Regions from separate parts of the Homo sapiens genome. Here all the other regions are linked to region 1. The links are contacts of gene promoters, found by promoter capture Hi-C in blood cells and fetal thymus (Javierre and others, 2016). All regions are on one chromosome and are shown on one strand. The core of a region is centred on a gene start or on the middle of the fragment in contact, and the rest is flanking DNA. Distances in the headings are between cores, read along the strand shown.

What was found. The method cuts DNA at HindIII sites, captures the fragments that hold promoters and counts their contacts. A CHiCAGO score of 5 or more calls a contact.
Region 2: a contact is called between the fragment with the promoter of TIGD2 here and the fragment with the promoter of SMARCAD1 in region 1, in 6 of 17 cell types (naive B cells, non-activated CD4 T cells, total B cells and 3 more). The highest score is 20.5, in naive B cells.
Region 3: a contact is called between a fragment that was not itself captured here and the fragment with the promoter of SMARCAD1 in region 1, in 1 of 17 cell types (total B cells). The highest score is 6.4, in total B cells.

What each region holds. Positions count from the first base shown.
Region 1 is chr4:94,205,938-94,210,438 of GRCh38, reverse strand. It overlaps SMARCAD1 (SNF2 related chromatin remodeling ATPase with DExD box 1), which reads right to left and starts at 2,574. Exons shown (of 24, transcript NM_020159.5): 1 at 2,369-2,574; 2 at 1,855-2,093. The coding sequence starts at 2,044. It overlaps SMARCAD1-DT (SMARCAD1 divergent transcript), which reads left to right and starts at 2,883. Exons shown (of 9, transcript NR_125922.1): 1 at 2,883-2,909. RefSeq lists enhancers at 1,994-2,497, 2,596-2,955. The HindIII fragment of the contact is 2,630 bases long and covers 504-3,133 here.
Region 2 is chr4:89,108,731-89,112,892 of GRCh38, reverse strand. It overlaps TIGD2 (tigger transposable element derived 2), which reads right to left and starts at 1,360. Exons shown (of 2, transcript NM_145715.3): 1 at 1,010-1,360; 2 at 1-826. RefSeq lists a silencer at 1,103-1,552 and enhancers at 1,633-1,712, 1,743-1,852. The HindIII fragment of the contact is 10,355 bases long and covers 1-4,162 here.
Region 3 is chr4:99,807,014-99,811,196 of GRCh38, reverse strand. No RefSeq gene overlaps it. Among named protein-coding and RNA genes, the nearest start is that of DAPP1, 7.7 kb to the left of the region's middle. The HindIII fragment of the contact is 585 bases long and covers 2,428-3,012 here.

The DNA of each region.
Region 1 (4,501 bases), core at 1,325-3,824:
TTCCATTCACTCTGTAAGTTCTTCAATGGATATCTAATACTTACAATGTAAAATCTAAACTTCTCAGTTTTCAAGATTCTCCAAAATTCACAGTATCATTTAAAACAATCTTTTATTAAAGCAAAGTGCTCCATTCCTACAAGGATTAATTCTCAACATTCCTAGAACAAACTTAGTTTTCTTATTTCCCGAAGCCATCAAGGCTGATCATGTAATTCCTAAAGCAATCTCAGTTTTTAAGCAGAATTTATGTATGGAAAAAAGTCCCAATAAAGAGAAAATGAGTGTTATCATTAGAAAGAAATAAAAACAGAAAAATATCTTCTGATCACTAAAGGAAATTAAAGATTTCACATGACCAATACTGATAAATAACTAAAACATTCCACTGAAATCCAGTTTACAAACTGCTTTCACTTTCAGAGATGAAAAAAGTGTGGATCACAGATTTCAAATGACTTGTCTAATGTCCCACATTTAACAAAAATGAAGAAGCAGAAGCTTCTATGGACTCGAAATCCCATGTCTACACCTTGGCTTTCCTGAACTATCTAACTACAGAGGAAACAGACAAATATATTCATTGGAAAAGCATTAAAATACCTGGATGTCAAATATCTATTCAAAGAGTGAACACAGGGATTAAAATCCTGGTGCTTAAAATCCTTCAGTTGTTCCCTATAGCATTTAAATTCAAAACTACTTAGACAAAGCCTTTGTAAATCTGACTCCTAATCCAATCTACCAAATCATTCTGCCAATTTCCAATTACACCAAAGTATTTAAAAATGTTATTCTAATGATAACTTGCAGAGGATCTGCCATCATTATTACATTTAAGTAGAAGGGTGGCAAACAAAAAGATACCAAGGATAAACATGTGTGTTACCAATCTTTCAGGCTACATTAAGTTAAAAGCTGTTTACGAAACAGAGTTTTGCATAAAAAAAGATATTACTGAAATAAATATTAAAATATAACTTCCAACATTCCTTTCACCTTTCCTAAGAAACTAACTAATTAGTTTATGCTCAGGAATCATACTGCCAGGACTTGAGTTCAGGCTCTACCAAGTTCCTAATAACCTCTCTGAATCTCATTTCACATTAACCTCTATGTCAGTAATATCTACCTTGTAGGATTATTGTGCAAATTAAATGACAGAAGGTGAAGCACTTATCACTATTCCTATAATACAACAAGAGCTCAAATATATTCCTCTAATAGTTAACTGTTCAATGAACATAGATTCGAGTGGAAATCTTAATTTTTGGCTTATCCTCAAATACTTTTGTCTCTGACAATCTGCTGATGAGGTTAAAAATGTTCATTCACCATGAAGAATACCAATTACTCATTTGCATTCTGAGGACATCCAGGAAGTCAGGTGGATGCAAGAACTTGATGTGATCTGATCTTCCCTTGTGTACAGAGGTTGTCTTTAGGCACCTTGCTCAATGTCTAGCTCACAGTAGATGATCAATATTTTGAGGGAATACTGGAATGAATGAAAATGTCTGCCCAAATAGCCTCAAAGTTTATCATAGGACTGAATCACTGACATCGCTCTTCCAATAGCAACCGTTCTGACCTATGGATGCCCTAAATTCTAATTTCAACTTCCACCATGGGGCCATATTCGAAGAACTCATATAAAAGTGAGGCGACAATGGATGGATGCTCAGTTGAGGGTACATGGTGCTTATGGCAGTCCCAAAGCTGTATTTAAAAGGGCACACCGCAGGACAATGCATCAATATATATGACATCAAGAATAAAAATGAGAATCCCTTCTGCCTTTCATCTTTTAAAAACTGTCCTTGATGTTACATCAATTTTAACATTGTAACTCACCTGTTTTTTCAGTTATATCTGAATCAGGAGTGTTTGCCCTGCTAACTTCCCCTTCAGCATTCTCCTCTTCAGCACTAAGAGAAATTGGTGAAGAAGGGCCAGGCTGGGAAGGTTGAGGGGTTGCTTCGGGCGCTTCCTCAATCTTATTCCTTTTCTCAAAGCGAAAACGGTCCAGGTTGAAAAGATTCATATTGGTAGAAAGCACCACCTTGCAGGGATGGGGGCTTTAAATGAACTATCTGCAGGGGAAAAATAAAGAGAGGAAAAAAGGCCATGAAAACAATATACGATACAATGCCACAGCAGTTTATTCCCAAGGCAATAAAGGGCCCGCAAACATGCCAGTGGCTCAGGACTGTTATGGCTGCGCTTCATTGTTAGGCCGCAACAATTAGAAGGTGGACGGGGGTATCTTTTAAAATTTTCCATTGCTTTTCACTCCCCTTCGTCCGCCTCCCCCGCCCGCCCCTCCTTACTGAAACCACGAGCTGACCCTCATGCAACCTCCTCTTACCCAAGCACGCGCAGGCACGTTCCCCAGTATAACCCCCTAGCGGGCCTCGCGCCCGCCCACAAAGAGAAGCTCCCTGTGCTACCGTGCCCCCTGCCTCGAGAAAGGACCTGCCAGGGCCCGCGCCTCGACACTGCGGGGACACAAAGGGGCCAAAGAAGGGGAGCGGCGGAGGCCGTGCTGGCGGGCATCCGCCCGGAAGTTGACGCGGCGCGATCCCAGCTGAGAGGAAGCTGATAGGATTAAGAACACACAGGAAGGTTCAGAGGTGGAGTGCATGCTAAGGCATCTTTTTAACGTTCAATCGCTCGCTTGTTCTTTCTTCCCTCAGTACTTACGATCTTGTAGCCTCAGTGCTATGTAACAAAGGTTGAAAATAAAAAAAAAATTTCCTAGCGTGGGGCGACGGTAGCCGTGCCGGGACCTTCCAAAACACCACGGAGAAACCTTAAGAGCGCGTAATGATGACGCAACACGCAGCCTAGGCTTTTTCTTCCCAAACAACGCGCGAGCCGACAATGTCGAGGCGCGCGCTGTTGTCATGGTAATTCGTACCCGTCTCCGCCGGCTTGTAAGGGCCAGATTGTTCTGTACCTTTGTCCTGTTAAATTATCTAGAGAGTTATTAAATAGAACAATAGTAAATAGCATAATGACAAAAAATAACAATATATAATACAATTAGTATATATTGTATGTATTATAATCTGTAGTGTTTCACCTATAATATAATGTAGATAGCATAATAGTAATAATACTGTGCTAAGCTTTTTCAGTGTATAATCCCAATCCTTACAAGAAGCCTATGTTTACAAAGCAAAGAAACTGAGACCTGCAAATGTATAGGTAATTAGTGACGGATAAGAACCCCGGGATGCTGAGCTTCAAAGCATTTAAAGTAATTCCTCACTTTCGGCTTGATTGTTCTTAGAATGGAATTTGATTAATTAATTAATTTTTTAAAAATATTTTAATTTTTAATGTTTGCGGGTACATAGTAGGTGTACATATTTATAGGGTACATGAGATATTTTGATACAGGCATGCAATGTGTAATAATCATATCAGGGTAAGTGGGGTATCCATAACAAGCATTTATCCTTTGTGTTTCAAACAATCCAGTTATTTTAGTCATTTAAAAATGTACAATAAGCTGGGAGTGGTGGCTCACGCCTGTAATCCCAGCACTTTGGGGGGCTGAGGCAGGTGAATCACAAGGTCAGGAGTTTGAGACCAGCCTAGCCAACATGGTGAAACTCCGTCTCTGCTAAATATACAAAAAATTAGCCGGGCGTAGTGGCGGGCGCCTGTAATCTCAGCTAATCGGGAGGCTGAGGCAGGAGAATAGCTTGAACCTGGGATGCGGAGGTTGCAGTTAGCCGAGATCACTCCACTGCACTCCACCCTGGGCAACAAAGCAAGACTCTTGTCTCAAAAAAAAAAGTACAATAAATTGTTGTTGACTGTAGTCATGCTATTGTGCTATCAAATACTAGATCTTATTCATTCAAACTGTATTTTCGTACCCATTAACCATGCTCACCGACCACCGGGGTCCTCCCCCGCCCCACACTACCCTTCCCAGCCTCTGGTAGCCATCGTTCTACCGTTTCTCATACGTTCAATTGTTTTAATTTTTTAGCTCCCACAAATATAATAAATGAGAACATACCAAGTTTTTTTTCTGTGCCTGCCTTATTTCCTTTAATATAATGACCTCCAGTTCCATCCATGTTGCAAATGACAGGATCTCATTTTTTTTAATGGCGAAATAATACTCCACTGTGTATATGCACCACATTTTTCTTATTCATTCACCTGTTAATGGACACTTAAGTTGCTTCCAAATCTTGGCTGTTGTGAATAGTGCTGCAACAAACATGAGAATGCAGATATCATTTCGATACACTGATTTCCTTTCTTTTGCATATAATTCACCTATCTTGATGGAAATGTTAGCTTAAGAATATATACTCCTGGCCGGGCGCAGTGGCTCACGCCTGTAATCCCAGCACTTTGGGAGGTGGAGGCGGGCGGATCATGAGGTCAGGAGATCGAGACCATCCTGGCCAACACGGTGAAACCCCGTCTCAACTAAAAATACAAAAAATTAGCCGGGCGTGGTGGCGGGCGCCTG
Region 2 (4,162 bases), core at 111-2,610, 5.1 Mb after region 1:
GTTCGTAAGATTCCTCCTCTCACTTCTAGGGCCTAGATGGATAGTGACCAATTTCCTGACAAGGTCTACGTGAATCTACTTGCTATTTTAAAACTTACAAACTTCCTACAACAAAGCCTAGCGCCAATTAACTCTTATCTTCTATCTTTCTTCCTCCTCAGGGTTCAGGGTCTTTCATGAAGTGCAATCACACTAGAGGCTAGAAACTGTACTGGTAAGGCTTCTAAAACAGTACTATTGCATACTCAATTCTTGCCATCCTTGCAGGTAATGTTCTTTGCCAGAATAGCCACTAAATCTCAGGTGGAAGTATTTTAGGAAATGTGCTAGGGAGTAAACAGTTTAAGTCAAGAGAGGACTTGCAAACTTGACATACAGGAAAATACAATGGGAAAACTCACCCTCTGACTATGTGGTCTTTGTCAAGCAGTGGATTGTATGGAATGCTGTCTCTCTAGGCACGGACTCTGCTATAGGTTGCGCAAGTGAGTGCTTGTGGAAATCATACGCAAGAGAAGATGACCCGGACAGAAGTGAACAGTGCAAATAAGGTGAAAGTGGAACAGGCAGAAAACTCTACTTTAAAAGCGACTTAAACCTACTAGATTTGGCAGCTGGAAAGGAGGATAGTGGACATGTGATGTCACATTACTAAAGAAAGCATCAAAAAAACTGCATCGGTGGAAATGAGGACCCAAGGTAGAGGCTATGGGGTGGCAGGCTCGGTGAAGATGATGTTACAATAATCCTGGTGAAAGACGATCCTCGATGGACCAACAGAAGCAGTTCCTGTGGGGGCTGTAGAGATACTCGGAGGCTCCGAAACCTAAAGGAAAATACCAAAAACATTTTCTTTCAATTCAACATCAGGATCTGTGGCATTATCCACATTTATCCTGCAACTATGTTGAGAAAATTAACGCCTCCTATCAATGTGATAGCTAAATACGACAAATAATGCTTTCAGGCATAATCTGGGGTGACAGAGAGAGGGACCTGAAGAGCCTACCTCCTGAAATTAAGAGGTCAGGGAGAAGCCGTGTTAGCGAGGGCCTCTCCCCGCTGGGCGAGCTTCAGAGCGCGGGACGTCTTTCCTCCCGCGGAGGGAGCCCGGATTCCGCCTGGACGCCGGCGACCAGGATGTCACTGCTGCAGCCAGCCAGCCAGCGGGCGGCCGCTTGGCACAGGGAACGCCAGTCCGCCGGCCCCGGGCATCGCCCTGGGACCGCCTGCGCGGCGCCCAGACCACACTAAGCGCAAATGGAGTCTCCTGAGGCAGGCTGGCACTGGTGGCCCGGCAGCGGCGAGGGACGAGCGGAGAGGGACGAGCGTCGCCGCCGGAGCCGGAAGGCGGGGGATTAGAGAGCACGCGCGCGCCCCCGCAGAACGTTGTGCCGGCGAGGGGGCGGGGCCTGCGCGGGTGAGCGCACGCGGCCCGGGGGAGGGGACTCCGGCGAGCGGGCGGGAGGGGCGGGGGCCCGGCAGGGGTGCGTCTCTAGGCGCTGCGTGGGTTCCACTCACCGCCTGGCCGTTTCGGGGCCGCAGTGCCTCCCTGGCCGGCAGGGGGAGGCACACGCTCGCCTTGTCCTGGCGCTTTTCCCAGTGGCCCGGCTCTGCCGACGAGGCTCTTTTCTCCCTAGGGGGAAATTTTAAAATCTCACCCCCCCAGTGCTGGGGGGAAAGCGGAGGATCCTCGCGTGCCGGGAGCGGGCTGCGAATGGGGCAGGGCGAGCGCACGTGGGGCGTGTTTACAAACAGCAGCCGCGCCGCCTTGCGGAGGCGGTCCAGGTGTCGGAGCCCAGAGTCAGCGCGCGTGGAAAGTGCTAGCCCGAGCGAGGATCATGAGGCACGGTAGGAGCCGGCGGACGTGGGTTCCGGGCAGGAGCTGGGGCGTTCGCTCGGCAACACCCAGCCGGACAAGCCCAGGGTGCCGAGGCGCGGCGGGCTGCGGTAGAGCCGAGTGTCGGGTCAGCGCTCCCCGGTGCTGATGCTCCGAAACTCGTCACAGTCGCTGTAGAGACGGACCCTTTGCAAAATCGACAGCACCTGGGAGACCCTTGAGCCAGTGGGAGGCGTCGTGGTAAATTTCCTGCCGTGCCTCGACGCCCGGGGCTTCTCAAGTGGAATCGGGGAATTGCGCTTTGACTGATACTCCCTTTATTTGTTTCCAACGGAGACATCTGCGGAAGGGTCACCGCCTTCCTGGAGGAGAGAGTGGTGCACCTCCACCTTGCACCACCTGTTTCCTGGGAAACGCGGTCAGGCTGCCTTCCTTTCCGTCTTGTGTGTGCGTGTCAGTTTGAAAAATTGGAAATTCTTCAGTGAATTATCTCTTCCATATGAACATAAATGTAACCTTTTCGTTAACACAAAGTAACATAGTAATTCGTCATTTCTTTGACAAGGCCATATACTGTTTCTGGAATTTCAGAAACTTGGAGATGGAAATCAAAGCGAGCATACTGTAGAAAACAGATGTTGATTCTAAGCCTTCTGTTTGACTCCGCCGCCAAAACTGCTCAATTGCCTTTCTCAACATAGCAGCCTTCCACTATCTGGCATGACAGAAATTCTTTGATCTAGTTATGTTGTGAGGTTGTAAGTGGCTTTTGGAGAATACCTGCTTTTAGACCTCCCCTCTTCCCTGCCTTCCATTTGGCTTCCAACAAGCCAGTCCCTTTCTGGAAGTCCTGGTTGCCTGTTTTGGGTACATTATAACTTACTTCATGGTAGTTTTATATAACTTTACAAAATATTCTTATTTTCCCTGATACCTGTGAAGAGCGTGAAAGACTGCTAGAACAGCACTTTACCGACTGCCACCCATGTGGAAATGAGGCAGCCTGTAACCAGATGTCAGCCGCCTGCCTTTCCGCCTCTCCCCCGAGTCTGCTGGAGTAGCTGTGTCCCAGGATATTTAAATACAAAGGAATCCTGCCTCTTACTCTTCCTCTCTTTTCCACAGTATCTCTAGGATTTAATTTTCTTCCAGATACCATTTGCATTTTTCTCTGTTCCTCCTGGATTCTCCAGTTTGCTGTTTTATGTCTTATAGCTGTTCCCTTTTTATCACCTTGTGTAAGTTCAAATCTGGATACAGCCCACATTTCTAGATTTTCTCAAAACACCGCTTGACTCAAGGCAATTGTATTTAGTAGACTTTTACTAAGATTTTACTCAAGGCAATTGTGTCTTTACACAAAACAGTTTTATTGGGCAAACTTTCTCCTTTTGTTGGGGGAAGGGGTGGCTAGTTGTGGCAGACATATTACAGCACAAGGGGGAGAGGACTTAGAATGTTAAGAATATGTATATATACACACATATATATATAATAAGAATATATGTATGTGTATGTATGTGTATTTTTGAGACAGGGCTTCTCTCTGTTGCCCAGGCTAGAGTGCAGTGGTACGACCATGGCTTGGGCTCACTGCAGCCTCAACCACCTAGGCTCAAGCAGTCCTTCTGCCTCAGCCTCCCGAGTAGCTGAGACTGTAGGCTACAGGTGCGTGCCATCATGCCCAGGTAATTTTTGTATTTTTTGTAGAGATGAGGTCTTGCTATGTTGCCAGAGCTGATCTCAAACCCCTGGGCTCAAGTCATCCTCCCACCTTAGCCTTCCAAAGTGCTGGGATTACAGGCATGTGCCATCCTGCCTGGCCAATAATAGATTCTTAAGGTGGTGAAACTACTCTGTACAACTGTAATGGTGGGCACATGTCATTAAACATTTGTTCAGATGCACGGAATGTACAACACCAAGAGTGAACCCTAATGGAAACTATGGACTCTGTGATAAAAATGTTTCAAGGCAGGTTCATCAATTGTAACTGATGTTCCACTCTGGTGGGCAATATTGATAATAGGGAGGTTATGGATGTGTGGGGGCAGGGAGTATGTGGGAAATCTCCCTATCTTCTGTGGAATTTTAGAACCTAAAACCATTCTAAAAAATAAAGCCTATTTCTTAAAAATGTAGGTTCAAAAAAAAATGAGAATGTTGGGTGCCTAAGGCAAAGTTGCCTTACTCTTTCTCATGTACTATATGCTCAACACAGCACACACCAAGCAGTTCTCCACTGGACACAGCTGGGTATCCTATAATTCATTTCAATTCTGATACCATCTGCCTGGAGTGTCCCCCCAACTTCAAATTCCA
Region 3 (4,183 bases), core at 1,471-3,970, 5.6 Mb before region 1:
TCATCAGGGTATGCTAAATTGCTACTTCAGAAAGACCCAAAATTTAACACTTCAACACAGAAGTGAATTTCTTATTCATATGACTGTGAATAACGTGGGTCACTCTCCCCACCCCATCCCTAAGGGTCCCGGGTCACTCTCCCCACCCCATCCCTAGGGGTCCTGGGTCACTGTCACCTCATCCCATTTCTAGGGGTACTGAGTCACTCTCCCCACCCCATCCCTAGGGTCCTGGGTCACTCTCCCCACCCCATCCCTAGGGGTCCTGGGTTACTCTTCCCTTACCCCATTTCTAGGGGTCCTGGGTCACTCTCCCCACCTTCATCACTAGGGGTCCTGGGTCACTCTCCCCACCCCATCCCACAGACTGGGTAGCTTACACAAAACAGAAATTTATTTCTCACATTTCTGGAGTCTAGGAAGTCCAAGATCAAGGCACCAGCAGATGTGGGGTCTGATAATGCCTGATTCATGGTTCATAGATGCTGGCTGTCTTCTTGCTGTGTCTTCACATGGTGGGAGGGGCTGGGAAGTTCCCTGGGACCTCTTTTATAAGACATGAATCCCATTAATGAGAATTATGACCTTATGACTTAATCACCTCCCAAAGGCTCCACCTCCAAATACCATCACATTGGGGATTAGGCTTTTACATAGGAATTTTGTGGGACACAAATGTTCAGTTTTTGGTAGGGAGTGAGGAATGGTTTGCCTCTGCTGAGAGGTATATTCTGTCATTGACATTGGTTAGAATTGCTGGTTTCTGGTGATAATAAAGAGCAGAATGACTTCTCATTGGTTTTATCATTATCATTGTTTCTTTATTCCCTTTCTTTCTTTTTTTTTTTTTTTTTTTTTTTTTTAGAGAGTGTCTGGCTCTGTCACCCAGGCTGGAGTGCAGTGGCATGATCTCACCTCACTGCAATGTCTGCCTCCTCAGCTCAAGCCATCCTCCCACCTCAGCCTCCTGAATAGCTGGGACTACAAGCATGCACCACTACACCAGGCTTATTTTTGTATTTTTTGGTAGAGACACGATTTTGCCATTCTTTCCAGGCTGGTCTTGAATTCCTGGGTTGAAGCAATCCTCCCGCCTCAGGCTCCCAAAGTGTTAGGTTTATAGGCATGAGCCACAACGCACAGCCTGTTTCTTTATTGTTATTGACTATACCAGGGATTAAAGTGCTCCCAAGCACCCCCTCACCTTTGTATGTCACTGGTAAAAAAGATTCTTATATTAGAAGGAAAGTTATTCTAAGTCACTTTTAAGTTCCCTTTTAACTTTGAAATAATGTGACTTTTTAGAAACAAATACCCAGGGTTGCTGAAGCTATCCTGCACACATACATAATATATATTAGGCTTTCTTGCTGAAGCTGGGGATGATTTATATTTAACCAAACACCTCTTAGCACAGCAAATCAACATGCCTTCAGATAGAGCAGTGTTAATACATTATTCCAATAATGTTAAGAGAGCACATGTGTGGTTTAAGAAGAGTGCTGTGTTTTGCATGTCTCCTAATTTCCTAGAACTTCACTCTGGCTTTCTTAACAGGTAATGCAAACAGATTAAGTGATATTATGCTCCCTTCCGCAAAGGCTTTACTTCAGCACTTACTTTACCATTTTTAGATGCAGTGTCTTAAAAATATGCAAACATGTGCACTTGTGGGTGAGTGTGGCAGATGCTGTTTGTGCTGGTGAAGCAAGGCACCATCTGCATGGAAAGGTCATGCTTAATTGTGTCAGCACTGATTTCTGAGTAATGAAAGCCTGGACAAAAATGAAACTTCAAACACACCAGCATTTTTGCATTTAAGTCTGCAAAAGTAGCTGCTAACTCAACCAAATGAAATTAAACAAGGTTACGCACTTTTGGATCCTGTGGGCCCTATCCAAATACTTTTTGTCTTCTTGTCCACACTTCATCTGAAAAGATTGCTGTGTTAACTAACGGGAGCTAATGGCAAATAACAAAGATAATTTGACCAACTGGCCAGCTGAGATATCTCCCAGATTCTTAGCTTCCACGAAGCACCAGGGTAGATTCAGCTTTTGAAAATGGGTAAAATTTGAAATCGTTCATGATAATGTGTGTGAATGGAGCAGCTCAGCCAAAATGTCAGAACGTTTGGTCTACCTTGGGGTAGGACTTCAGAAATGAATAAGAGGAGTCTTAGAGCTTTTCATGGAGAGCATCTTAGAGGGAACCTACTTCAGTTCCCCTATTTAACAGGTTGGGCAAGTGGGGTTGGAAACTATTAAGATACTTGCCTGAGATTTCACCCCTAGTTACAGGGATTCTGGCACTTCTGACTGAGCCCAATTCTTTCCTTGCTGAGTCCAGTAATAATACAGCTAACTTTGGTGCTTTCTTTTAAATCACAAAATGTTTTCCAGGCCAGCATTAAATTAATAGAAAGCTTGAACCTCAGATGTATGTTATTTGTCCATTTGAAGCCTGCGTAAAACAAACTCCGCGGGAGTAAAAACTGTGGCTTACAGGTCCTCATATGACTTACTTTGAAACCCCATCAAAATAAATATTTCTTAAAATAGCCCTGGAAGCAATGAGAATGGACATTATAGAAAATATAGCCTTACTCTAGCGCTCCCCTCGCCACCCCCAACCCCCGGGTGTATTTAATTTGTGGATTCGCCCTACTGGCTGTGCTTACTACACCTCTTCCCCTCCACTTCCACAGGCAGGACCTCTGTGATGAGGATATGCTATCACTAGGTGGCAGTAATACCGCGTTGGTGGGCGCGGGGGAGCTGTTTTACCTGAAGTCAAGATTAGATCCATCGCTTTTTCCTTCCTCTCTATGAAAGTATAGTTCTTTATTAAAGTAGCTGAATTCAGGTGATACTACCCAACACCACATTTGTAGAAGATTCCTTAAACGCCAGACTACTAAACCATTAAATGATTCAGGTATAATTTATTACCTGTCTCACCAAGTTTTAAATGGTTCAATTCTTAGTTCTGCTCTCTTTTCCCTTTAAAGCTTTGAGACCTTTACTGAAAGAATTTAAATGAGTAGGAAGTGATTGAAATCTAAAAATTCAATTTTATACCTAAAAATGATTTTCATTTCTGCAATTGCAATATATTTTAAGCACTTACTTTTTCCTCAGCTCATTTGGTAAATATAAATCTTCAAAGCATTTCAATTTTCATTTAAAATAAGGAATGTAGGTGACTCTAAAACTGCTAACGTAGAGCCCTGTCACAGTAACGGTGACTGGAAATAGTGAAAATTCTTCAGGGTTCTCAGCGTTACAGTGAAGGCAGCTTGGGAACAGCTCCCCGATTACAGAGACAGTGACTCAGCCACAGCAACAACTTTGAAGTAGATTTTGTCACTGTTCCTGGGTGGCCCATGGGTCTGAGTTTTCTCTGTTAATCATATAAATATGAGATCTTTGGTATTTTAAATATTTTAAGGGTGGTAAAGAGAAGTTTCTCTTAACATGTAAATGTTTTTGTTCTGTCTATCTAAAGGAGACATTATAGAGATGATTTTTTTTGAGATGGGGGTCTCACTGTGTTGTCCAGGTTGGTGTTGAACTCCTGGCCTTAAGTGATCCTCCTGCCTCAGTCTCTCAAAGTGCTGGGATTACAGGCATCCGTCATTGTGCCCAGACACAAAGTGAATTTTATCCAGAAGGTTAGGTGGGGGATGGAAGCAGGAGGAAGAGCAAAATTATGAGGAACTATGAGTGGTTAAAAAAAAAATGTGAAGAGAGCAGGAGAACTATAAAAGAGAGTACTGACAGGATGGTGTGATAGGTGACTGAACCAGTAATCCACCCGAAGCAAAAAGGATAAACCTGGCCCTGAAGGGGGCCACATCAGAGCAAAAATAAAGGCTTCAGAAGACCCTGGAGGGTGGGGAGCATGGAGGTGACACACTGGAAGCTGAAAGCTAAGGGCTGCAGCAGGGCTTCTCCCAGGACAGGCTGTGCACCACCAGCCTCAAAATCCCCAAGGCACAGGGCCCTGGGGCCTGCATCTTGGACAGTTGCCCCAGGTGATTCTGATGTTCGGCAAAGGTTGAAGAGCACCCGAGTCTGTGGAAGAGCCTGCAGACCAAAAGTAATGTGGTGACGGGTCTGTGGGCTCCTGGGGCAATAACGAGTGCCATAAGCCTGTGCCAAGAAAAGATGGTACCTTGTGA